Linked DNA regions of Homo sapiens: regions 2, 3 and 4 are each linked to region 1. Evidence: promoter capture Hi-C in 16 types of primary human blood cells and fetal thymus (Javierre and others, 2016). All regions are on one chromosome and are shown on one strand. The core of a region is centred on a gene start or on the middle of the fragment in contact, and the rest is flanking DNA. Distances in the headings are between cores, read along the strand shown. Region 1 holds the start of PEX12 (peroxisomal biogenesis factor 12). Region 2 overlaps RFFL (ring finger and FYVE like domain containing E3 ubiquitin protein ligase). Region 3 overlaps RFFL (ring finger and FYVE like domain containing E3 ubiquitin protein ligase). Region 4 overlaps RFFL (ring finger and FYVE like domain containing E3 ubiquitin protein ligase).

Region 1 (3,243 bases), core at 1-2,500:
GCTTCTCCAGCTTCACTTTCAGATAGGGAAGAAGAACCAGGAACATAATAGATTTCCAAAGCTGCTGCTTTGGGAGACCAGCACTAGCCAATCTCTGAGACTTGTGAGTGTCCCCCATTACAATTCTCTTTAAGCCGTAAAAGTTTTCAGAAAATGAGGCACTGGTTCTAGACAGATAATGTTGCTGGAGCAGAAGATCTAGCAGAGTAAAGATTTCATCAAACCACCTCCACAAGAAGCCATAGTGGGTGGGATTTGATTCTGCAAGAACCTAAAGCAAAATAAAGCAATAAGTGAAATTCATTCCATTACACAAGTTCTACACCTATTTACATTCCCCCTTTTCCTCTAAAGTCTACACAATTTGTTTTAAATAAGTCACTGTTGGACCCTGAAATGCTGGGTATTCAGTACAGGTCTCTACACATAACAGAGACTCAGTAACTCTTAAGTCATGGGATACAAGTTATTTGCAAATTGGCTATTTCAAACGCTAGGCTACCAAATAAGCACAAATTATTCGTTTGTTTTTTACCCAGTTGTCCCTAAAACCTTTCCAAGAATTAATACCTTACCTTGACCACATGCTGAAGAGCGGGTCTCACTGCTGTCATTAAACTGTCCTGTGCTACCACCTCAAAGATGGATGGCTGGTCATCGGCCACAGAAGCAGCTGTGAAGTGAGCCCCGTGCTCAGCCATAGTTTCCTGCGTGTACTGGCTTTCACTTTTCCCACAAACTCTCTCGTGAGCATGAACTTTTTCGGGAGGAAGAGTATCAGATGGGTGCTCAGTCTTAAAGGTAAACTTTCTGCATGATATCTGAAACTCGAAACTCAATCTTATGGGCAAAAATGAACTGGGAAAAAAAGACCTGGAGGCCGAGGGTAGTCTCAAGAAGGTTAAGAACAAAGTTAACTCGGACGTGGGTGGAAGTAGTATGTGGCGAGGGGGTAACTTGTCAAATGCTGCACGTCAGGGCAGAGCGTGACTGTGGGGGACAGGTATGGGGGAAGGAACGCAATCCTCTGGAGCTGCGAACCAGAAACGCCCCCTCCTCCCCAATCGTGAGAGCTCAAAAGCCAGCCGACTCTGAGGATTCAGTCGTGCCACTGTGAGCCCGGGACACAAGGGCTGACTCCAGCTGTTGGCTTTGAGTATCCCCGCCCGCGCCCGTCCTTGCTCGCTGACCCCAGGCGAGGCGCAAACAACCCACGACGCCACGTTTGAAGGGAGGTCTCCGCTTTATGACAGAAGCCGCACCCGGAAATGAAACCACCAGGACCTCTGGGATGCCTGGCGGAAGAGAGGCGCTCTAGTTCCGAATGCGGTCCGGAAACCAGAACTAGAGAACTCTATGACCCACCTGAGCTTCCGCTCCCGCCCCGCTGAAACAGAAGAGGGCCCTTGTGGGCTGGTTTTGGCTAGTTTGGTTTACTTTTCGTAGCTGGGTCTGCATGGTAGCCTCGCTGGAAAGCTACAGCTCTGAACCTCTCTCTGCGAGGTCTTTTTGACAAGCTGTTTGGGGCACCGCGCAGACGTCTGGCGCCGGGAGCCAGAGCTCGGGCCCGTTGCTGAGCCCTGTGTTCCTGCAGGCGATGAAGCTAGGGGCGGTGGGAGGAAGGGAATCTGGAGGTGGAAAGGACTTTGCTGTACGCGTGCGGCAGGGATGGTGGTTAATTTATATGTCTTAGCCTTCCAGAAATGATTTAAAGCGACATAGCAGGAGATAGGAGCCTTAGATTTATTGCCGCCAATTATAAGGAAAGATGATTGGATTGAGAAAGGTTCATGCTTGTTCCTCAGTACTTGAGACGGTTAATTTTCATCCAAGCTGGTAGTTTAACGTCTTCCAGGTTTTGGCTATATTCAAGCATAACTGCATGCACTTGCTATACTGGATGAAAATGGTCTCCATCCTTGAACACAGTTGTATATGTCACCACCAGCGATATGAATACAGTACTAACGCAGAGGGAGCTTTATGAATTGTAACTAGCATGCACTGGGGACACTTGACAGAAAGTTTCCTTTCATGCCGTTTTTATACCAAAATGAATGTGATTTACCTTAAGGTTTGTAAAGTGCTTTTATGTTATGTACAGCTTTGTCTCGCTGAAGTTGGCTGACACAGCCTTATTGAATTTGGATGAGAGTTCCACCTCTCCTCCCTTCCTCTGGGAAGTGCCACCTCTGGGCTAAATAGCTGGGAATAGAAGGTATTGTTTACTGCCCTAGAGGCCCTTATGTTATAAAAATAATTGGTTTGCATAATGAGAACCCTCAAAAACAAGGTTTGGATTTAGTTATTCCAATAGGAGAGAAAACCTTACAAATTGTCCTTAATTATAGTTATAAAAAGTGTTTTTTACTCTACCAAAAGACATTATATTGATATATGATTTTTACCTTACAGAGTTTTAAGACTAGACATAGTTTATCCATATGAAGCACCTGGATACATATTAGGTGCTTGTTTAATAGTAACTGTTATGTACAAGCTTTTCTTAAGTGAATAGCAAAAATACAAAGTTGAGAGGTAGCATCAACTAAATCAAGCAGGAAATTAAACATTTTTGTCACTTAGGGATCTTTGGTTACAAGCAACAGAAACAAACAGGCTAATTTAAACTAAAACGGAATTTATTAGAAGTGTATGGAGTAGCTCACAAAATAAGTAAAGCCAGCCCTGAAAGAACAGGAACTTAACAATACTATTGGGACTGCCTAACAGGAATTAGAAGTTCTTATCCAGGCAACGTTGTTGCAGTGAACGAGCTTCCACCAATTTCTGTTTGTGACTCTGCTCGTGATACAAATTTTGACTGACCTCTCTTGGTTCAAGTTCCCTCTCCACCCTGTCTTTCACTCTTAGCCAGGGGAAGGCAGGATGTCTTGATTGATAGTCCCATGGAAGTACTCCAAAAGTTAACTAAACGTATGGCATAAGAACGCCTATAATCCCAGCACTTTGGGAGGCCGAGGCGGGTGGATCACCTGAGGTCAAGAGGTCATGACCAGCCTGACCAACATGGAGAAACCCAGTCTGTACTAGAAATACAAAAAATTAGCTGGGTGTGGTGGCACATACCTGTAATCCCAGCTACTCGGGAGGCTGAGGCAGGAGAATCGCTTGAACCCTGGAAGCGGAGGTTGTGGTGAGCCGAGATTGCACCATTGCACTCCAGCCTGGGTAACTGAGCGAGACTCCATCTCCAGAAAAAAGAAAAGAAAAAGGAAAGGT
Region 2 (3,243 bases), core at 558-3,057, 560 kb before region 1:
CCCAGACCAGAACTGAAAACACCAAGATTTTAAAAAATGAGCTGAGTGTGATACATGCCACCCCTCCTCTGTTTCAGTGTTTTACAAATGTTGGCTTATGAGCTCAGGTAGCCCAGGGACATGCACATCAGTCAGTCCGCCCCTACGTATGCTCCACTCTGCTTCCTGCACAGCGAGCAGAGAGAATTTCTAAAGATGGTGAGAGGCCCCCTGGGTCTCAGTGAGTTTCCCACACACCCTCTCTCTGGGGGCTCAAATGCTCAGAATTCTTAGATTACTAAAGGGATTGGGGTTGAAGGAGGGGAAGGACAAAAGGGCCTAAGCCCATTCCCAAACAGAAACAACTACATACCGTTTTGGTCTTCGGCACCACTGACTGAAAAGGAAAGAGAAGGATGTCTGAATAGGTAAGGCATGATGGTACAAATACAGTCTCTTACTGCCCTGACATCATTTCTGAACTCTTACCACTCCCTGCTGGGAACCAGGCTTGCCAAGAGCCTAGATGGACATCTGCCCTCTACTCGCTCTACATGCTCAGAACTCACACAAAGCTCCTACTCGTGCATCTGGTCTACTTTTATTTTTTATTTTTTTGAGATGGAGCCTCACTCTCTTGCCCAGGCTGGAGTGCAGTGGCATGATCTTGGCTCACTGCAACCTCTTTCTCATGGGTTCAAGCGATTCTCCTGCCTCGGCCTCCTGAGTACCTGGGGACTACAGGCACATGCCACCACTCCCGGCTAATTTTTTGTTTTTGGTGGAGATGGTGTTTCACCATGTTGCCTATGCTGGTCTTGAACTCCTGATCTCAAGTGATCCACCTGCCTCAGCCTCCCAGAGTGCTGGGATTACAGGCATAAGCCAACACACCCAGCCTGGTCTACTCTTAGGAAAAGGTATTCCACCAGTTTGCACAAACTGCCAAGTAGAAGGATACTGTATATGTGCAATATCCTTTTCTATTTTGAAGTCAGCATTAAAGTCAAGAAAGAATGAACTATCTAGCTGTTTCAGTCAGTCAGAGAATCTGGATAAAGTTCCCACGTGGAGTCATCTGTTCTGTTCCCCAGGTCCTGACGACTGGAGAGAAGACTCTTGAAACAATCCCAAAGGGAAAACAGACTCCATGTCAGTAGGCCTCAGTCTGTAATCGGGTGAAGAGTCAGTCAGATGACCCCTAACACTGATGAATTTGAGCTACTGGTAGAAGAGAGCCTGAAACCTGACTTCAACCACTCTTACCAAGCAAGGAATCAGTATGTTGCTCTGTAGGAACCAAATCAACTGGGGATGGGAGGAAAGGAGAAGATTCTGTGGTGAAATAATTTCAGGAAATGCTAAGTTCAAAACAGCCAAAACACATTTCTCTTCTGCAGGACTTCTCTGCCTTTAATATAAAAATCTACCATAAATCAGTAATGAAGATATGAGGTATTTTTCCCTAAACTCATTTAACCACAGACCCAGATATTTTCCTGGGCATCTCCTGAATGATACAGTGTAAAATGCTCTGGGAAATGAACAAAAGGAAGAGCCCAAGTGCAGATGGAACAGCTATCTTCTCCTGCCATGTATGTAGATTCACTTTCTACCTCCCAAATCTTCAGAACAAGCATTCTTATTCTAAGGTAAGAAAACTTACAAGGTGGTGGTGAGTAGGGAGGGGATAGCATATGGTGAGAAAGGCTATGGACTTAGACCATAAAATTTTCAGTTAAATTTTACCTTTCAGATAAAGGGGTGATGCTAATAATGTCTATTTCATAGGTTGCTCTAAGGAATAAATACATACATGCAATGCCTAATCTAGTTTTGACACTCAACCACAAATGACAGCTATTATTAGACGGTGCAAATATGTAAGGTGTCTCCTTCCATGGCTTAAGTGTGGAAATTGAGTCAGGTCAATACCATCATGCTTTGGAGTGACAGCAAACACTCCTGAGCTCTGTAAAGCTACCATGCAGATAGCCCCTCACCCAGGTGCTGGAGTCCTTTCTGATCCTTGTATAGCCGGGTCACTCTCTCCATCAGCTCCCACTTCTCACAGCAGCCCTTGTAGTTGACAAAGTTGCGAGCCAAGATCTCTTTCAGCTGCCGCACTGTCAGGCCTTCAATGTCCTCCAGGTCAGTCAGGTCAGACAGAGAGGCCCTTCGGCCTGGGACAAAGCTGTCCTCTGAGTCAATAGACTGCAATGACAAAGATGAGATCAGTGTGCTCAGCTCTTACCTCCCCAAGCTCTTTCTCCAAGGACCCCAAAGCAGTCACCACATCATAATTTTGGTGACTGACCTCATGAAGGGTAGGAACAGAGACAGGATGAGTACCTGGCATGGTGCTCTGCATTGCAAAATATACTAGAATCTCTTCCTGACCCACGATTCTGTGCTCAGGAGCAAACAGACACAGACCAACCAATCAGTGTGATATAGTACTAGATAGAAGTATAGTAGAAGGAGTGCTGGTTTGAGTCATATGACCCTAATTTTGAATCTTGACTCCTCTGCTGTTAATGCTAAATAATATCCAGCAAGTTGCTTACCACTCTGAGCCCGTTTGCCCCTCCATTAAGGGGAGAGAGCAGTCCTACCCCACAGGGGTCCTGTAGAGGTTAAATATGGCCGCACATGAAACCCAGCATGGTGCTGGCCCTTCTCCCCTGGAGACTTCTGCTTGCCCACAAGAGGCACATTTCCCTGGCAAGTACTCCTCTATACACAACCTTGGCCACAGCTCCCTGGTCTGTGCTCTGGACTGGCCCTGCCTGGCTAATTGTCTGACCTCCTTCCCTTGACAATGGCTACAGTGTGCTAGAAGCAAGGAAAGAACAAGACTTTAACAGCAGGACCACAAGCCTGCCCTCCGGCAGCTCTTAGAAAGTCAAGAGACTGGAAATACAATGGGCCATGAGGCTTCTCCGTCTCCACTGTGACCTCACAACTCCTTATAAATACACTGACCGCTTCACTAGTTAACCTGGAACACTAACACTAAACCCTACCCCAAAAATATAATTTCGGAAGCACTATCATCACACATTTATTCTCTCTCCACTCGACTCTGCTAAGAGGTTCCGAAGAACACCAGTGAAAGAGGAAAGGTGAAGACACAGACCCAAGCAGAGGCCCCACCTGGGTCTCATCCTCAGCAGGTACTCTGGCCACGCTCTCCAGGTAGACGGGTTCCTCTTGATCCTGAGACACATGGCCATTGGCCTGTGGGAAGAGAAAAGTAACATC
Region 3 (3,243 bases), core at 537-3,036, 540 kb before region 1:
ACTAAAAATACAAAAAATTAGCCAGGCGTGGTGGCACATGCCTATAATCCCAGCTACTCAGGAGGCTGAGGCAGAAGAATCGCTTGAACCTGGGAGGCAGAGGTTGCAGTGAACCCAGATCGCACCATTGCATTCCTGCCTGGATGACAGAGCAAAACTGTCTCAAAAAAAAAAAAAAAAAAAAGGAAAAAAGAGCAACTGGAACTCTAATATTGCTGGTGGAAGTGTAAATTACTCCAATTTGGAAATTTTGTGTGTGTGTGCGCGCGCGTGCATATACACGCGCACCCACATCTCTTTCCATGGCTTTGCAATTCTGCTTCCAGGCATATACCCAACAGAAATACATTCACCCAAACAGTATACAGGAATATCCATGGAAGCCCTACTGTAATAGCCTCAAGCTGGAAACAACTGAAGTGTCCATCAACGGTAGAATTATGATATGTTCACAGAACAATGAGAAAAAACAAACAACTGATACATGCAATAGTACAGATGAATCTTATGTTGAGCAAAAGCAGGAGGCATAAATGAATACATGGGAAATGATTCGTTTTACATAAAATTCAAAAACAGGCAAACTATGGTGTTCAAAATCAGGATAGTGGTCATCCTGTGAGGTAGGATTACAGATGGAAGGCAGCCCAAGGGGCTTCTGGTAACATTGTTTCTTACTCTGAATGCTGATTATGTAGATATGTTGACTTTGTAAAAATTCATCGAACTGTACACTTATAATTTATATACTTCTCTAGTTACATTTGAATTAAAAGTTTATATGAGTGTTGTGTTTTGTTTTGAGATAGGGTGTCTCACTCTGTTGCTCAGGCTGGAGTGCAGTGTTGCGACCATGGCTCACTGTAACCTGGACCTCCCAGGCTTACGTGATCCTCCTGCCACAGCATGCCGAGTAGCTGGGACTACAGGCGCGCACCACCACACCTAATTTTTTGTATTTTTTTGTCTAGATGGGGTTTCATCAAGTTGCCCAGGCTGATCTCGAACTCCTGGGCTCAAGCAATCCACCCGCCTCAGCCTCCCAAAGTGCTGGGATTACAGACATGGGCCCCTGCACCCAGCCCATATGACAGATTTTTTTCTTTTCTTTTTTTTGAGACGCAGTCTCGCTCTGTCGCCAGGCTGGAGTGCAGTGGCGCAACCTCGGCTCACTGCAACCTCCGCCTGCTGGGTTCAAGCGATTCTCACGCCTCAGCCTCCCGAGTAGCTGGGATTACAGGCACGTGCCATCACACCCAGCTAATTTTTGTATTTTTAGTAGAGACGGCGTTTCACCATGTTGGGCAGGATGGTCTTGATCTCCTAACGTCATGATCCGCCCACCTCGGCCTCCCAAAGTGCTGGGCTTATAGGCATGAGCCACAACGCCCAGCCAATGACAGATTTTTTAAAGCACCTAGTCAAATATTTGTAATTTGTAAAAAATAACAAAAAAATAAAAAATAAAACCCCATTTTGACCCCACATTCTCCCCCTCCCCAGTAAAGCTCTTTTTCTGTGATCTCCTCTAAATCAAATTTCTCCAAATATTTGACTCCACTTTTTTTTTTTGAAACGGAATTTCACTCTTGTTGCCCAGGCTGGAGTGCAATGGCACGATCTCAGTTCACTGCAACCTCTGCCTCCCGGGTTCAAGCAATTCTCCTGCCTCAGCCTCCCGAGTATCTGGGATTACAGGCATACAACTCCATGCCCAGCTAATTTTGTATTTTTAGTAGAGACGGCTTCTCCATGTCGGTCAGACTGGTCTCAAACACCCAACCACAGGTGATCTGCCCACCTCGGCCTCCCAAAGTGCTGGGATTACAGGCATGAGCCACCGCATCTGGCCGACTCCACTTTCTTAACCTCTAATTCACTCTTAAACCTTCTCCAATCTAGCTTGAGCCAACCACCATTCCTAATCTCTTCAAGGTCACCAAGGAATTCCAAGTGGCCAGATCTAATTGACACTTCTCTATCCTCATCTTAATCTCTCAGCAATGCTGGACACAAGCGACTCTCCCCCTCTAAACATCTCTTAGCTTCTAGCACTCTGCCCCCGTGGCTTTCCTCCTACCTCAAAGCCTTTTTGCTGCTTCTTACCCCTCCCTCTGTTCTTAAATGTTGTGAGTGTCCAGGCTGTCTTAGGCCTCCCTCTCCAACCACACCTCAGGTTGCTTTAAATACCTTTCTTGGCCGGGTGTGGTGGCTCACACCTGTAATCCCAGCACTTTGGGAGGCCAAGGCGGGCAGATCACTTGAGGTCGGGAGTTCAAGACCAGCCTGGCCAACATGGTGAAACCCCGTCTCTACTAAAAATATAAAAAATTAGCCAGGCATGGTGGCAGGCACCTATAGTCCCAGCCACTTGGGAGGCTGAGGTAGGAGAATCACTTGAACCTGGAAGGCAGAGGTTGCAGTGAGCTGAGATCATGCCACTGCACTCCAACCTGGGCGACAGAGCGAGACTCTCTCTCAAAAAAAAAAAAAGTAAAAAAAAAATAAAAAATACTTTTCTTAAATCAAAGATGCATAAATTCCTACCTTCATCTCCCCTGCTCCTGCTGGTGGGTTAAAACATCATCTTTCATATATTAATCACATTTCCCTCCTTAGGCCCTTTAGATTTGTTGTTTGTTCCTTCTGCCTGGATTGGTCTCCCTAGAACTTCCTATGCTTAGCTCCTTCTTGTCATCCAAACATCAGCTTTAATGTCTTTTTTTTTTTTTTTTTTTTTTTGGTGTGTGTGTGTGTGTGTGTGTGTGTGTGAGGGAGAGAGAGATAGGGTCTCTCTCCAAGCTGGAGTGCAGTGGCTTGATCATAGCTCACTGTAATCTCGAACTCCTGGGCTCTAAGGATCCTCCTGCGTCAGGCTCCCAAAGCTCTGGGATTACAGGTGTGAGCTACCACGACCAGCCTTTTAATGTCATTTTCTAATTTCACCATAACATTTGGTATTAGCTGATATTATTTGCTTATTTATTAACTGCTTTCCCTAACTAGAATAGAAACCCCATGAGGGCAGGGACTTTGTGCTCTACCGAATTTCCAGAGTCTAGAATGGCTTCTTGGGTAAAAGAACAGCCTCCTAACGGGTTTCCTAGCTTTAATTCTTGCCTCTATCCACCTATTTCTCCACAAGGCATCACCCACTGCCCTCCTCCCCTCAACACACACACTTAAAGCTCTTTAATGTTGCTTGTTCCTAGAAGTGATCTTCCTTGGATGGATTATCCAAGG
Region 4 (3,243 bases), core at 206-2,705, 520 kb before region 1:
ACCATGTTTTCTCTCTGAGTCTTACCTAAATGTATATATGCTTTGGTATCAGACTAGCTTTATAATCACTGGTAAAATAGGGATAATAAATAAAGCCTACCCAACGCAAATAAAACCATATGAGGGAAATAATTTTGTAAAACACCATAAAAATGTCGTGATATTGCGGGACTAGATCTCAGCAAACCCTTTAAATCTTCAAATTAACTTTGAATGATTACTTGATGGTGGCAGGTAACACATACAAAATAAGCAGCCATGGGCTCATGTTCATCAAATAGGAATGAAAAACCATGCCATCTAACAAAAAAGCTTCTAATATTGCAAAGAATAACGGTTTGAGCCCGGAGATCCACGTCAGCCACTCTCTCTGATGGTGCCAAGCTCTAGTCCAGGGACACCAAGTTCAGTCAAAGAACTCAACAGTCTAGTGGAAGAGACAGACAGTGCTGTCTGTCAGAAAAGACAGAGAAGTCAGAGAAGATGCATATATGAACTAAGTGTCCTGAGGGATGAGTATCTTGCCAGTTAGAGAAGGGAGAGTCCATTGGGAAAAGGCAGAGTCCTAAAAGACATGGTATATCCATGGAATGTTAACATGAGAAGTTCAGTGAAGCTGGAGAGGAGAGAAATGGCCAGGGGAGAGGGAGATGAGATGGTTAACAGCAACATGTAGGAAAGAATCCAACTGTGAAAGCTTTTAGAAGTCAAGCTAAGTGGAAAACAGGGAACAAATGGCACCTTAAATGAAAAGATTAGATGTGGACTTTAAAAAGATAACTTGGGCAACAATATGGAGAAGATAGGAGCAAGGAAAGACTTATGGAGGAGTGGCCATTTGATAAGGGTCTGAACTAGGAGTTACAAACTCAAATTCCTAGAGGCAATGCAGGTAAAATGCTAAGTCTTCAGTGTGTAAGATGTCAGAAAATGGTGGTATCCGTAATCTTTGAAGAGTACAGGCCTTCTCTCTGATGGTGCCTAAAAGTATTCACACACAAAATTTTAAGCCCTTAGGCTGACTGATTGATTTTTGGGATGGAGTCTTCTTCTGTGCCTAGGCTGGAGTTCAGTGGCACAATCTCAGCTCATTGAAACCTCCACCTCCTGGGTGCAAGCAATTCTCTTTTCTCAGCCTGCTGGGTAGCTGGTACCACAGGCACTGGCCACCATGCGTGGCGTGCCTTTTTTTTTTTTTTTAAATACAGACAGGGTTTCACCATGTTGGCCAGGATGGTCTCAAACTCTTTTTTTTTTTTGATATGGAGTCTCACTGTTGCTCAGGCTGGAGTGCAGTGGTGTGATCCTCGCTCACTGCAACCTCCACCTCCTGGGTTCAAGTGATTCTCCTGCTTCAGCATCCTGAGTAACTGGGATTATAGGCACGTGCCACCACGCCCAGCTAATTTTTTGTTTTTAGTAGAGATGGGGTTTCACCATGTTAGCCAGGCTGGTCTCAAACTCCTGACCTCAGGTGATCTGCCCACCTCGGCCTCCCAAAGTGCTGGGATTACAGGCGTGAGCCACCGTGCCCAGCCTGACTTTAAACGTCCAGTTTTGACCTCTGGTAAATTAAGGCAATGACAGTGGGAATGAAGAAAAGCCACACATCAAACAGTACTCCAACAAAATCAACAGGGTTTAGCACATTTAAAGATGTGAGCATAAAAAGAATGAACAAGGCCGGGCGCGGTGGCTCACACCTGTAAACCCAGCACTTTGGGAGGCCAAGGCAGGTGGACCATGAGGTCAAGAGATCGAGACCATCCTCGCCAACATGGTGAAACACTGTCTCTACTAAAAATACAAAAATTAGCTGGGCGTGGTGGCACGTACCTGTAGTCCCAGCAACTCAGGAGGCTAAGGCAGGAGAATCGCTTGAACCAGGAAGGCAGAGGTTGCAGTGAGCTAAGATCACACCACTGCACTGCAGCCTGGGTGACAGAGCAAGATTCCTCTCAGAAGAAAAAAAAAAGAGTTGATGAGAGGATCAGAGTTGAGAAAGTACAGTACAGGCTCTTGCTCATTCTACCCTTACTGAGAACCTACTATGTGCAACGTACCATGGATACAATTCTAGCAAAGCAGACCCTGATTCTCAATACATACTATGATTGGAGTAAATACCAGGTTCTCCTGAGTACTCAACCCTGGTAAGTAAGAAGAGGCTTCATGGAAGAGGTGACTTCTAGGCTGAAACCAGTTGGCCAGATTAAGCTTGGGGAAGGTGTGTAAAAGAACGCTTACATATGCTAAGGTCTGAGGTGAAAGAGAACGTGGGCAATTTGTTGGAATTATAAGGAGCAGAAACGTAATTTGGAGGGTGACGACTACCTAGAGATATCATAGTCTGATTAGGTGAAGGACTCAAAAGTTTGGCGATGAAAAGCAGGAGGGAGATAGAGTAGTAGCCTAGTAGAATTAGAGATGAGGGAGGTTCTTCCTATTAATTCAGAAAGGAATATGGGAACAAACTCACTGATAAGACAGTGTTCTCCACAACTCAATATTTAGTTATTAGGAAGGCAACCAAATGCCTTCACTTCTTTTCCTTTAACAATGGCTTAGTTTGACTAAAGTGTTTCTCACAAGATACACACAAAAAAACAAAATACAAGAGCAAATGACGGATAAAGCTGTAAACCTAACGTTTTACTTTTCTAAGATTTATATAATCAGTGATTTAATTGGACCTAACTCCACATCCAGAACTCAAATGAAAGAAAACTTCTGGCCGGGGGCCGTGGCTCATGCCTATAATTCCAGCACTTTGGGAGGCTGAGGAGGGTGGATCACCTGAGCTTGGGAGTTCGAAACCAGACTGACCAACACAGCAAAACCCTGTCTCTACTAAAAATACAAAATTAGCCGGGCATGGTGGCGCACATCTATAATCCCAGCTACTTGGGAGGCTGAGGCAGGAGAATCACTTGAACCCGGGAGGTGAAGGTTGCAGTGAGCCGAGATCACACCATTGCACTCCAGCTTGGGCAACAAGAGTGAAACTCCGTCTCAAAAAAAAAAAAAAAAAAAAAAAAAAAAAAAACCTGACTCACTTCTGAAGACAGGATTTTCCCAGTTTCTAATGCAGCTTCATCTAGCTAATGAAACTTAAGAAAACAGTTTGAGGTTACCTGATTTTGCCAGTTTCAAAACATTGCCACGACAGAAAGCAAGCTGTCTCTAGTTCCTGTGGCTGAGGTCGCTGGAGCCATGTTCAGATGAGATCATCTCAGGAACCAA

What was found. Contacts are between HindIII fragments. The CHiCAGO score rates a contact against its expected background, and 5 or more counts as called.
Region 2: a fragment that was not itself captured here is called in contact with the fragment with the promoter of PEX12 in region 1 in 4 of 17 cell types (activated CD4 T cells, total CD4 T cells, total CD8 T cells and 1 more); the score reaches 7.2 in activated CD4 T cells.
Region 3: a fragment that was not itself captured here is called in contact with the fragment with the promoter of PEX12 in region 1 in 1 of 17 cell types (total CD4 T cells); the score reaches 6.4 in total CD4 T cells.
Region 4: a fragment that was not itself captured here is called in contact with the fragment with the promoter of PEX12 in region 1 in 5 of 17 cell types (non-activated CD4 T cells, activated CD4 T cells, total CD8 T cells and 2 more); the score reaches 7.9 in non-activated CD4 T cells.

Annotation. Positions count from the first base shown.
Region 1 is chr17:35,577,321-35,580,563 of GRCh38, forward strand. PEX12 (peroxisomal biogenesis factor 12) reads right to left here and starts at 1,251. Exons shown (of 3, transcript NM_000286.3): 1 at 576-1,251; 2 at 1-271. The coding sequence starts at 701. RefSeq lists an enhancer at 515-1,330. The HindIII fragment of the contact is 3,440 bases long and covers 1-2,498 here.
Region 2 is chr17:35,014,388-35,017,630 of GRCh38, forward strand. It overlaps RFFL (ring finger and FYVE like domain containing E3 ubiquitin protein ligase), which reads right to left. Exons shown (of 7, transcript NM_001017368.2): 4 at 3,136-3,219; 5 at 1,983-2,193; 6 at 353-376. RAD51L3-RFFL (RAD51L3-RFFL readthrough) reads right to left here. Exons shown (of 7, transcript NR_037714.1): 6 at 1,983-2,193. Among named protein-coding and RNA genes, the nearest start is that of LIG3, 35 kb to the left of the region's middle. The HindIII fragment of the contact is 6,276 bases long and covers 1-3,243 here.
Region 3 is chr17:35,038,123-35,041,365 of GRCh38, forward strand. All of the region lies in intron 1 of RFFL (ring finger and FYVE like domain containing E3 ubiquitin protein ligase), which reads right to left. All of the region lies in intron 5 of RAD51L3-RFFL (RAD51L3-RFFL readthrough), which reads right to left. Among named protein-coding and RNA genes, the nearest start is that of RFFL, 24 kb to the right of the region's middle. The HindIII fragment of the contact is 4,406 bases long and covers 1-3,243 here.
Region 4 is chr17:35,060,442-35,063,684 of GRCh38, forward strand. It overlaps RFFL (ring finger and FYVE like domain containing E3 ubiquitin protein ligase), which reads right to left. Exons shown (of 7, transcript NM_001017368.2): 1 at 3,135-3,243. All of the region lies in intron 5 of RAD51L3-RFFL (RAD51L3-RFFL readthrough), which reads right to left. Among named protein-coding and RNA genes, the nearest start is that of RFFL, 1.6 kb to the right of the region's middle. RefSeq lists enhancers at 2,817-3,243, 3,103-3,243 and a silencer at 3,038-3,107. The HindIII fragment of the contact is 1,520 bases long and covers 696-2,215 here.